Regions from separate parts of the Homo sapiens genome. Here regions 2 and 3 are each linked to region 1. The links are contacts of gene promoters, found by promoter capture Hi-C in human tissues and cell types (Jung and others, 2019). All regions are on one chromosome and are shown on one strand. Each heading gives the region's core, a stretch centred on a gene start or on the middle of the fragment in contact. The rest is flanking DNA. Distances are from core to core; before and after follow the strand shown. Region 1 holds the start of ARL15 (ARF like GTPase 15). Region 2 overlaps ITGA1 (integrin subunit alpha 1). Region 3 has its middle 21 kb from the start of MOCS2-DT.

The links. Contacts are between HindIII fragments. The study calls those that stand out against the background at their distance.
Region 2: a fragment that was not itself captured here is called in contact with the fragment with the promoter of ARL15 in region 1 in 1 of the 25 tissues and cell types used here (hippocampus).
Region 3: a fragment that was not itself captured here is called in contact with the fragment with the promoter of ARL15 in region 1 in 1 of the 25 tissues and cell types used here (IMR-90 fibroblasts).

The regions. Positions count from the first base shown.
Region 1 is chr5:54,308,999-54,312,547 of GRCh38, forward strand. It overlaps ARL15 (ARF like GTPase 15), which reads right to left and starts at 1,575. Exons shown (of 5, transcript NM_019087.3): 1 at 1,434-1,575. The coding sequence starts at 1,481. The HindIII fragment of the contact is 9,246 bases long and covers 1-3,549 here.
Region 2 is chr5:52,950,744-52,954,292 of GRCh38, forward strand. ITGA1 (integrin subunit alpha 1) reads left to right here. Exons shown (of 29, transcript NM_181501.2): 29 at 1,664-3,549. The coding sequence ends at 1,708. All of the region lies in intron 2 of ITGA2-AS1 (ITGA2 antisense RNA 1), which reads right to left. Among named protein-coding and RNA genes, the nearest start is that of ITGA2, 37 kb to the right of the region's middle. The HindIII fragment of the contact is 5,123 bases long and covers 1-3,549 here.
Region 3 is chr5:53,128,897-53,132,445 of GRCh38, forward strand. No RefSeq gene overlaps it. Among named protein-coding and RNA genes, the nearest start is that of MOCS2-DT, 21 kb to the left of the region's middle. The HindIII fragment of the contact is 3,023 bases long and covers 36-3,058 here.

The DNA.
Region 1 (3,549 bases), core at 325-2,824:
AGATAAATTACAAATTAAATCAGTTATTTAACTTAGAAAATAATCTTCTGGCAGCTCTCTTAACTTACAGGGCACCTTGTATTGTGAAGAATGTTCATAATCAGATAATCCCCGTAACCAGCTACAGTACTGGGTGAATAATATCCCTTTATCACAAAGATAAAGGAAGTTACTGCCATCAACAAATGAACAACAAAACAGAACTTGAATTCAGAATTTTAGATCCAGCTCCATTCACAAGGCTATGCATTAACTGCAGTCACCATCCTTTCCCACAAGACCATCAAGCTCTGAAGCATTAGGAGAAACATTTTCTTTATGTACACTAAAATAAGCCCAAATACACAGATAACAGCACAAAGCCGGTCCGGCGTTTCTTGGCCATCAAAGCATGCACAGACTTTCTCAGTACAGCCTTAAGTGTAATTCCTAGAAGGCACTGGCAAATCTCTGCCAGGCCAATCTGCAGTCGAAAACCGAGTGCATGTGTCCAACAAGATGACAGGAGGGTCAATGTTTCTAACCGTCTACTTCAACTCTGCATGGCAATAGCGGTTCTGCCCAACATGGTAAACACAATAATCGTATAGGATCGAACACAAGTCTCTGTAAATGAGGATCCCCTTAAACGCAAACAAGCAACTCTGGGGAAATATAATTTCTGGAACAAAACATGGTGCTCGCATAATTCCACAAAGACACATAGAAGTCCATTTTTAAAATGATGTTCGGTCCCAGCACTGTGCTGACACTTTTCCCACCTAAACTTCTCAGCACAAGCCTGGCCTAAACAGCCGGGTTCCAATCCGTGCACAGTGGAACCGCGGCACGCACCCAAGACCGGAATGGTGGGGCTATACCTGTCCCTACTCAGTCCTGTTCGTGCCAGCCTGCGAGGTAGTTTAGACCCGTCTGCTTTATGGTAATGTGCTTTTAAAACCCCGCCACGACCGAGGTCATAGCTTTAGAGATTTAATAACAATCAAATGACCAGGGCTGCTGGGCACTTAGTGAGCCATTCTGGTTATGGCTCTTTAATAGCACCTGGAGTTCTGCTCCAGGGAGAGAGGAAAACTCCTGCTCCCCCGGAAAGAAAGTCCTCTGCGGAGAGCGCAGAGGGAAGCCAGGAAGCCGATCGCGGGCAGGGGACGCGCCGCCGCGGCCGCCCCATCTCTCAAGCAGCCCCAGCGCGACCCTCGCCCTGCAGCCGTGCTGGCCCAGGCCGCACCTTTACCTGTCAGCTCCACCACCCACCCGCCCTGGAGGCTGCCCCTCCGAGTCCAGGGAAAGGCTTACCAGCCGGCTGCGGGAGAAAGAACCCCAGAGGCATCCTATCCCAAAGAAAGAAAGCAAAAAGGCTGCTCCTCAAGGCAGGGGGCCATCGGGCACGCCGAGATCCGAGAGGCGACATGCCACCCCTGCCCTGCACCTACCAGATAATCCATGTACAGAAACGCCTCAGTTATTCGGAGATCAGACATCCGGCAGCCTAAAGCATCCGGAACGGCTCCGAACCCGGAAAAAAAAAGCAGCGTCTCTGGCTGCGAGCGAGCAGCTCCTGAAAAAGCCAGCAACAGCGAAAATAGCCGAAAGCAGCCGACTAGCCGGAGATTACACAAGGGGCGCGGCGATTGGCCAGGCGGGCGGGCAGAAGGAAAGAAGCGTGCTCATTGGCTGCGGCGCCTATAAAAGGCAGGCCCCAGCTGGTGGCAGGAGAGAAACGCGGGAGTGGTGGGGGATGTGGGTTCCTGTGTGCTGAGCGGAGGAGCCGGGGTGGGGGCGGTGCAAGCGGAAGAAAGAGCCAAGAGAGCGGAAAATCGGCTGGTGCTGTCGCCGCCCGAGTTTTGTGTTTCCACAGCTTTCCAGTTGGGTACAACGGAGCCGAACTCCGTGTTCCCGGGCTGGAGAGCCTTGGTGTCCCCGCCAACCCCCAGTAGGAAGCGAGCGCTGTAACATGGGAGGCGTGGTCGCCACTGATCTTGTCTCCCCCCAGAGCCTTCCTAAAGGCTCTGCCGCCACGAGACTGCACCACCGGGAAAGAAGTGTGTGAAAGTGTACTCCGTAAACAGGCAATCCTGTACGCGACTTAGGGGCAGAAAGACCCTCCGCACTTTTATCATTTGAAAGTAAGGTGGACGATTCCAGCCTGGTGTCCCTGAGGGTACACACAGGCCCCCCGCGCAGCCAGAGGTGACTCAGGAACCCCCCTTCCAACCCCTGCGTAGAACGCCGAACAGTCTTCGGAGAATTCGCTTTCCTCCACGTGAAAAGGAAAAGAAAAACATTTGAGGAGTCGCAGTAGTCACTTGTACTCCCCAAACACACGGGAAGAAGTTGATCAGTTTGCATGCTTGGAGTCAAATTACGCTCAGCACAAATCCAACGCCCCTGAATTAAATGAGCAGTAGAAGCTCTCTGCAAAAAACACAACAGTATTTGTGACCCGGTATTATTTCAGGAGGTAAAAACATCTATAAGCAGATGCATTTGGGACGTATGCATTTCCTGGTAATGTCAATATCGCATTAAGCTAGTGGGTTTGGGCAGGGAAAGCCTGAATCGGACAAGAAGCTGGCTTTTTTTTTTTTTAGGCTATAAATAACCAGACCATGCCAGACACATGTTCTTAGGCTATGTTCTTAGGCTCAGGTGATTGGAGTGCCCCCCCCCCCATCCCCACCCTCAGGGCTTAGGGAGAATGGAAGATAAGGTGGATGCTGTCACCTGTATTAATAGTTAGGGCTTGCATACATACAGTAAAGTTTCAAGAGTGAAACTTCATCGACTGAACTCTTTATGAAGTGACTGCCTGACTCTACACGCGATGTTTTAGGAGTTGAATTTTTACTTTCCCCCTGACACCTTTCTTTTTTGTATCCTCAAGAAACAAATTTCCGTACCGTAAGTTTACCTGGGACTACCAAAACAGTTCTGTTAGATGACCGTGGAATTCACCCCAAATGTGCACATAACCAATAAGGGCGAGGCAGCCCCCTAGAGGGAGCTGTAGGTTGATGAGCCAAGTGATTTTAGGTATGCAGTCTAATTTCCAAACCTGTTTCCTCAGCTGCAAAACGAGAATTCCTACAGCCAGAAAGTTGTGAGGGTTTGGGCGGGGGGCGGGGTTGGGGAAGTTGTTTTTGTTTTTTTGAGACAGGGATTCTCTCTGTCGCCCAGGCTGGAGTGCAGTGGCGCGATCTCGGCTCGCTGCAACCTCCGCCTCGCCGGCTCAAGCATCCTCCCACCTCAGCCTGCAGAGTCGCTGGGACCACAGGTGTGCACGACTACGCTCGTCTAATTTTTTGTATTTTAAGGGTAAAGACAAGGTCTCACTATGTTGCCCAGGCCTGTTTCTAACTCCTGGACTCAAGCAATCCGCCCACCTCGGCCTCCCAAAGTGCTATTAGATCCAATTTTGATTTTCCTTGGCATTCTGTTAATTCAAACACATGTAGGTTTAGAAGAGATTTTCACCTAGATTTTGGAGGAGATGGACGTCCATAAACGTACACTCTTTAGCACAATTTGTTTGAAACTAATTTGGAAAAC
Region 2 (3,549 bases), core at 758-3,257, 1.4 Mb before region 1:
TAGAAGCCAAGGAGCATTGTAAAGAAGCAAAAAGAGCTGTGAGAGATCAGAAGCAAAGCAGAGTGGGAAGGAGAAAAAGTCTTAGAATCCACCACCTGCTTTTGTGAAAGCCTTGTCTGTTTATTTTTGACTCAGGACATGCAGGCACAAGTTAAGAAGCCTAATGGTTTGTGAATCTGGAACTTTTATACTTGGCTCATATGAAAAAGCCTGAGACGTGTAGGAGAGCTGGCATTTGGGGAAGAAAAACTTATTGTTTTCATGTGTATTTGTTCCGTTACCGCCTTTTCTTCATCTACCACCAACTAGATGATGGCATAATAGAAGACATGAGCCCTGAATAAAAATTTTCCAACCTAAAAGTGCATATTTTTGAGGGTTTATCCCCTCTAAGCCCTCAGTTGTTTAATAATTATTTTATAAACACATAGTTCCCTGGCATAATTTGCCATAATTTCGTGATTAAAATGATGTAGAGGTGCCACACTTTTAAAGAATTAACTCATTGCCTTTGCTCGATCTATTATAGCCCCCTCTCAAATTTAAAAAATATATACAAATTTGAAAAATCACTTACCTATGACCCTTAATTTTCTTTTTTTAAAAATAAGCATTTTAGGTTAGATAATTGCAAAGATCCCTTCTATCCCCCATACTTAGTTTTGTTATTCTATAGGATGGGAAACAATTGCAGCACTTATAACTTTTTATGATGCCCCAAATTGCAAAGCATAATGAAATATGGCTCACCATCCACCACGATGTGAAATTTTTCTTATGGTCAACAACTTCATTTTTTATTTCCAAATGATATAGTGTGTTTTCAAGAGGCTTTTTATATCAAATCTATATAAGCAGACGTCCTGATGCATTTAAAGTTAATACAGACAACTCAGAAATCTCCCTAACGCCCTAGCCATAATATACCTGTCAGATTCCCTACCATCTCTAATGACCTCAACTTATGGTCATCGATCATTTGATGGAAATTTCTCTGCCACATCCCTGAAAAAAAAGATGATGGCAAAGAAGAGACAATGCTAGCTAATTGCAGTTTGTCTCCCAAAATATTTTCCCAGAAGCTTTTAATTAGTTCAATGTGTATACTATATTTTACTAGGGGTCATGGTGTATTTAACCAATGAAAATATTAAAAATGAAACCGCGGCCCGGCGCGATGGCTCACGCCTGTAATCCCAGCACTTTGGGAGGCCGAGGCAGGCAGATCATGAGGTCAAGAGATAGAGACCATCCTGGCCAACATGGTGAAACCCCGTCTCTACTGAAAATACAAAAATTAGCTGGGCATGGTGGTGCATGCCTGTAGTCCCAGCTACCCAGGAGGCTGAGGCAGGAGAATCACTTGAACCCGGGTGGCGGAGGTTGCAGTGAGCGGAGATCACGCCACTGCACTCCAGCCTGGTGACAGAGTGAGACTGTCTCAAAAAAAAAAAAGAAAAGAAAAAAAAAGAAACAGCAATTTAATAAATGTCATTTTTTGACATTGAATATTAATAGGTCAATGAGAAAATATTTCTTAATTATATTAGTTGTGTGCCCAGCATTGCCAATATACTATTAAATTTAATTCTATCCAAAGGATTAATATTTGCTACCTAAATTAAAATAGTTAATTGTGTTATGTTTTGTGTTTTCTCAACAGATTGGATTCTTCAAAAGACCACTGAAAAAGAAAATGGAGAAATGAAATATTTTATGAAAGAAAATAATAACAATTATTCAATAATCTATCCTCAGGTTTGCCTCAAATATGTGACAAGAAATGTATAATTCATGACATAGTCATGTAACTATGTAATCCATCAGGGATTCATTACTTGGAAAATGACAGGTCATGCATTATCCAAAAACAATACCAAAAAGACATATTTTATAAAATGACAAAAAATATTTTACATAATTACTCATTTTTGTTGAGTAAGCAAAATTACAAAGTGTTTTTAAAAAAACCTGTACAAATATGTTTATGTATTAAATCACCATCCAAAATATTTAAGGAATATATAAAAAGATTTTTATGATCATAGAAACATCTATTTTCAAAACAATATAAATTAAGCTTTTCCCCTTGATTCCTGTTGGATATCCATGTTCAGCATGACAGTCAGCACTCGTAAATGCCAAGAAAAGAATTACCTGAAAAAGATCATTTCTCCCTATTCAAATGAGAATATTTTCCCTTGGTAGAATCCATATACAATATGGATTGAAAATTAAGTCACCAAGAATACATTTAGCATCTTTGTGTTGGGTTCTATACCTAAAAATTTTCCCTCCCTGCCCAAGGTGATTGGAAAGTACTGCAATTGAGCTAAAATTTTATCTAGGATGGAAAATCAGGATAGACTCGTTTAAAAACAAGTATATTAAATGGGTTAAATTAAGCTTTTACAGAACATGCTTAATTTTGATATTGAGCTCTAAATGCAAAACTCTTTTATACTGAAAAAACACTTAAAGTAGTTTTGTGTGGCATCACAGTGATTTGTCATGAAAAGCCATATATGGGGGACATGCTAAAATGGCTTCTGAATGAAATACGACAGCAGAGAAAGATGCCACTGAAATGCTGAAATTATCTTTGCTGAGCAGCTTTTGAATGCTAAGGGTTCCAGTATGTGACCCAAAGAAAGAGTTGTCTCAACTCCTTGGTACAGGGTTCATTCAAACCCCCAAGCTGTGAGAGTGTGTTTATTTTTAATTTTTTAAAAGGTATTTAATTTCCAACCACACTTCTTATTTTTTTGAAAAGACAATTTTCCATTTCAGTATTACATTTTACCAAGAAGTCACTGCTTTTTAGGTGTGTTGCATCAATATTTAAATAAAATCCCAGAAATGTATTTTAAAGAATTTCAGGTTTGAAAACTCAAACCAACAGGAAGATATCACACCTTTGTATGTGCTTCTTTGTTCTTGAAGTAGTCATTATGGTTCATTGGAATCTACTGTAGCATAAGCTCCTAGGTTGCTCCATTTCTTAGGAAAATAGCAATGAATGAATGTATAGTAGCTGCATGTGTGAACTACTGCTGTAAAGTTTGCTGACATTTCTGCAACAACATTTCTCCATCTGATTTACCAGAACCTGTAACAAGACCAGAACATGTATTCATCCAGAAACTCCTGGGCTCTGCTTTGTTCAAAGAGGAGCAAATCCACATAGAAATTAAATGTTATAAATTTATTTTTTTAAACTAATTTCCAAAGAATTTAGCTGAAGACTCAGAGTCAGCCTACCTCTTGACTCTCCACATCCGCATCTAAGATCCTGAAGGCCAAAGGAATGCGCCTGTGGGATGCCAAAGCCATCAGTAGCTGGAAGAAAGAATACCTCTTTCTAGAGGTTTGGTGTCCTCTTGCTGGCCTGTCATTATTTGGAAATACGCGCTTTTGGAATTTCCTTCATTTTCGCTATTTCCAGGTTCAGAAATCATACCTACCACTTGTTCTTTCTTTGCCCAGTAAAACTCAGGGTTTCTCTTATTCAGAGTTACCATGTTGCACACCCCCAGTGCTCAGCCTGCC
Region 3 (3,549 bases), core at 297-2,796, 1.2 Mb before region 1:
AGAAAAAGTTACAAATGCAAGTTTCCTGCAAAAAACATTTGAAGCCCAGAAGAAAAATTTTTGAGAGCCAAAAGGTTGAATGTTTCTCCCCTAGGATGGTTTCATAGGGACTATCTTGGGTATAGTTGGATTAGGAAGAGATTGGTCCATGTACAGAAATGAGATCAGGGAAGGTTATGAATGATTCTGAGAAAATACTAAACCCAAAAGCTGGCTATGAGGTAAGCATCATGGTTAAATATCTAACCCAGACTGGACTGAATGTATATATTTCTTTCTTTTCTTTTCTTTTTTCTTTTTGAGACAGTCTCACTCCGTTGCCCAGGCTAGAGTGCAATGGCGCTATCTTGGCTCACTACAACTTCCGCCTCCTGGGTTCAAGCAATTCTCTTGCCTCAGCCTCTCGAGTAGCTGGGATTACAGGCGTGTGCCACCACACCCGGCTATTTTTTTATATTTTTGGTAGAGACAGGGTTTCACCATGTTGGCCAAGCTGGTCTTGAACCCCTGACCTCAAGTGATCTGCCTGCCTCGGCCTCCCAAAGTGCTGCGATTACAGGTGTGAGCCACCGCACCCAGCCTGAATGTGTACATTTCTGAGACAATAACTCATCTAGCATTTGCACTATTACAATGGATTTAAAACTGTTCTCCCTGTTTATGAACTTAACCCTACAGTCTGTGGCTCAATGTAAAAGTTAAAATGATCCTTTTAAAACTTAAATCTGATCATGTCACTTCACTGCTAAAAGTTCTTCCATAGCTTCCCATCTCACTTGGAATAAATGTCAAAGCCCTTAAAGTGGACACCAAGGCCCAGGTCTGGTCCCAGCTCTGTTTTATTTGATGTCATTTCCTCCATCCTCGAACACATTGCACATTCTGCTCCAGCCACAGTGGTCCAGCCGTTCCCTGAACACATCAAGCACACTCAGGACCTTTTAAATTCCTGTTTCCTCTGCCTAAATGGATCTTTTCCCAGATATCTGCATAATGCACCCCTCACTTCCTTCAGGTCCTGCTCAATGAATAGTATCAGAGCAGTATTCACTGACCACCCAATACAAAGCAGCAGCCCTCCCACCCAGCTTTCTCTTTTCCACGAACTCGGCTTGTTTTTCTCATATCACTTATCATTACTTGGTAGATTGGATTTTGTTTTTAGTTGGTCTGTTTATAATCATTTCTCCCCTCTAGAATGCACACTTTCTTAAGATTTTGTCCACTGATATGTCCCCAGAGTCCAAAACAGTGCCTGGCACATAGTAGGTACTTGATAAACACTTGTTGAATGAAAGAGCGAATGAATAAATAAACAAACAAAGGAAACTTTCAATGACATCGAGAAAATTAACAGTCATAGAGTAGGGAACTACACAAATTTGAAAGACATTTAGTACTTGGGCTCTTTCCAAAATTAAAAAAAATTATAATTACCCTCGTCTGTTCCTCCACTGTGATGAGTAATGTTAGTGACATGAAGTTGAAAGAATGGGTGATTGCTTTCTGGAAAGAAAGAAGGCCGACTCCTTGAAAACTGTTGAAAGATCAGAAAGGAGTAGATAGGGTTCCAGGCTTGCATGAAGAAATTGGCTCTGAACTTCACCAATAAAGGACCCATATGTGGGTTTACAACTAAGAGGACATTATGTTTAAAAACTGTCATTGAAATTGTGCCAGAATCTGTAATCAGGACCTATGACTTTTCTGGTTTTCTTAACTTAAAAAAAAAAAAAGTCCATGATTTAGATATATTTCTTCAGAATGTTGCCTGTCATCAAGACCTAGTAGTGACAGTGTCCTTAGGGATTACTAGTGGGCTTTCTTAATTTGCTGAGCGTTTTTTTCTTCTGTAATACATACGTATAAAATATAATAGGAAGAGAAAGACAAATATTTGAAATATTTTCTCTGAAAGCTTTTTTCCCCCCCTCTCCCTCTTTGATACCATGGATATATTTGTTTGAACATATGTATAGTGAATTTCCCCTCATGGAGTTGTTTATCCTCAGCTACCTTTTGCTGCTAGAAGTAGGTGCGAAGGGGCTAGGCACAGCATGAGTAACTTAATTTATTACATAATATTAGGCATTTAACATAACATTAATCAAACCTCTCCAACTGGAAAAGACCAAAAGACAAAAATGAAAACCATGCTGCTGTAACAAATATCTATATTTGAGATGGGCGAGGCCTTACCATTTTTAAGACTTAGATTTGCTTAATGTTTTTAATTTTAACTTTATTTAGTGTATTAGTTTGTTCTCACACTGCTATGAAGAAATACCCAAGACTGGGTAATTTATGAAGGAAAGAAGTTTAATTGACTCACATGTCTGCATCATTGGGGAGGCCTCAGAAAACTTATAATCATGGAGGAAGGGGAAGCAAACACATCCTTCTTCACATGGCAGTAGCAAGGAGAAGTGCAGAGTGAAGGGTGGGGGGAAGCCCTTTATAAAACCAACAGCTCTTGTGAGAACTCATTCACTATCACAAGAATAGCATGGGGGTAACTGACCCCATCATTCAATTACCTCCCACCAAGTCCCTCCCATGACATGTGGGGATTGTGGGAACTACAATTCAAGATGAGATTTGGGTGGGGACACCACAAAACCATATCATTTAGTTTCAAAGGTTTTTCAAGTACAAATGTTGAAAATATAGCCTTGTTTTTAGAGTAATTTATTTTAATTCAAGTTTAATAAACTCAAGATGGGAATATGACTCAAGAACAATGAAATGTGTTTTTCTAAGCAAGCATATTAGATTATAATACAAAGAAAACATGTGAATAAAACCACAAAGAATACAGTTTTTAATTAGAATATTTTATGGGCCCAGTTCTCCTTTTAGGGTTTATAGAATTATGTGCCCAGTTCCCATTAAATGTAAAAAAACAACTAATGCACAAAATCTCACCACACACTACAGTCAAAATGTGACTTGAGACCAAAGAGTTATTCCATTTCTTGCATTGACCAAAACCTCATTTTGTTGTTCTGTACCTAGATGAAACTTTTCATGACCTCTTTACAGTAATAAAATACTCTGTCCTTTGACTCTATCTATGGAGTCCTGTCTATTTCCCCACTTCTCAGTTCTGGTACTCCTAACCTACTTTATACTTTGGACACTTATTATCTGTTTCCTTTGTTCATTTATCCACTCATTTAAGAAATAAAAATTGATTGAATACCAAAGTCCAACCCCTCCCTAAGGGGAAAAAAATAATGTATCAATCCAATTTCAGTCGACTACAATTTAAAGATGAGATGACATGTTCATCAGTAATTATATTCTGGGGTTTGGTGTGATCTTTAGCTGTACAGAGCCAAGTTCCATAGGAATTCACCTGTGTAACCTCCAGACAGATCATGAAAAGTTTTCATCAGGGAGATGAAATGTAAGCTGGACTTTGAAGACTATACAGCAAGAGTAGAGACAGAGAAGGGAGGTCACTGTTGGTGGAAGAATACCAAAAAAAAGGAATTTTGAGGGGAGGAAAGAATGTTAGCTAAGCTGCTAAAGCAGGAAAGTCCAGGA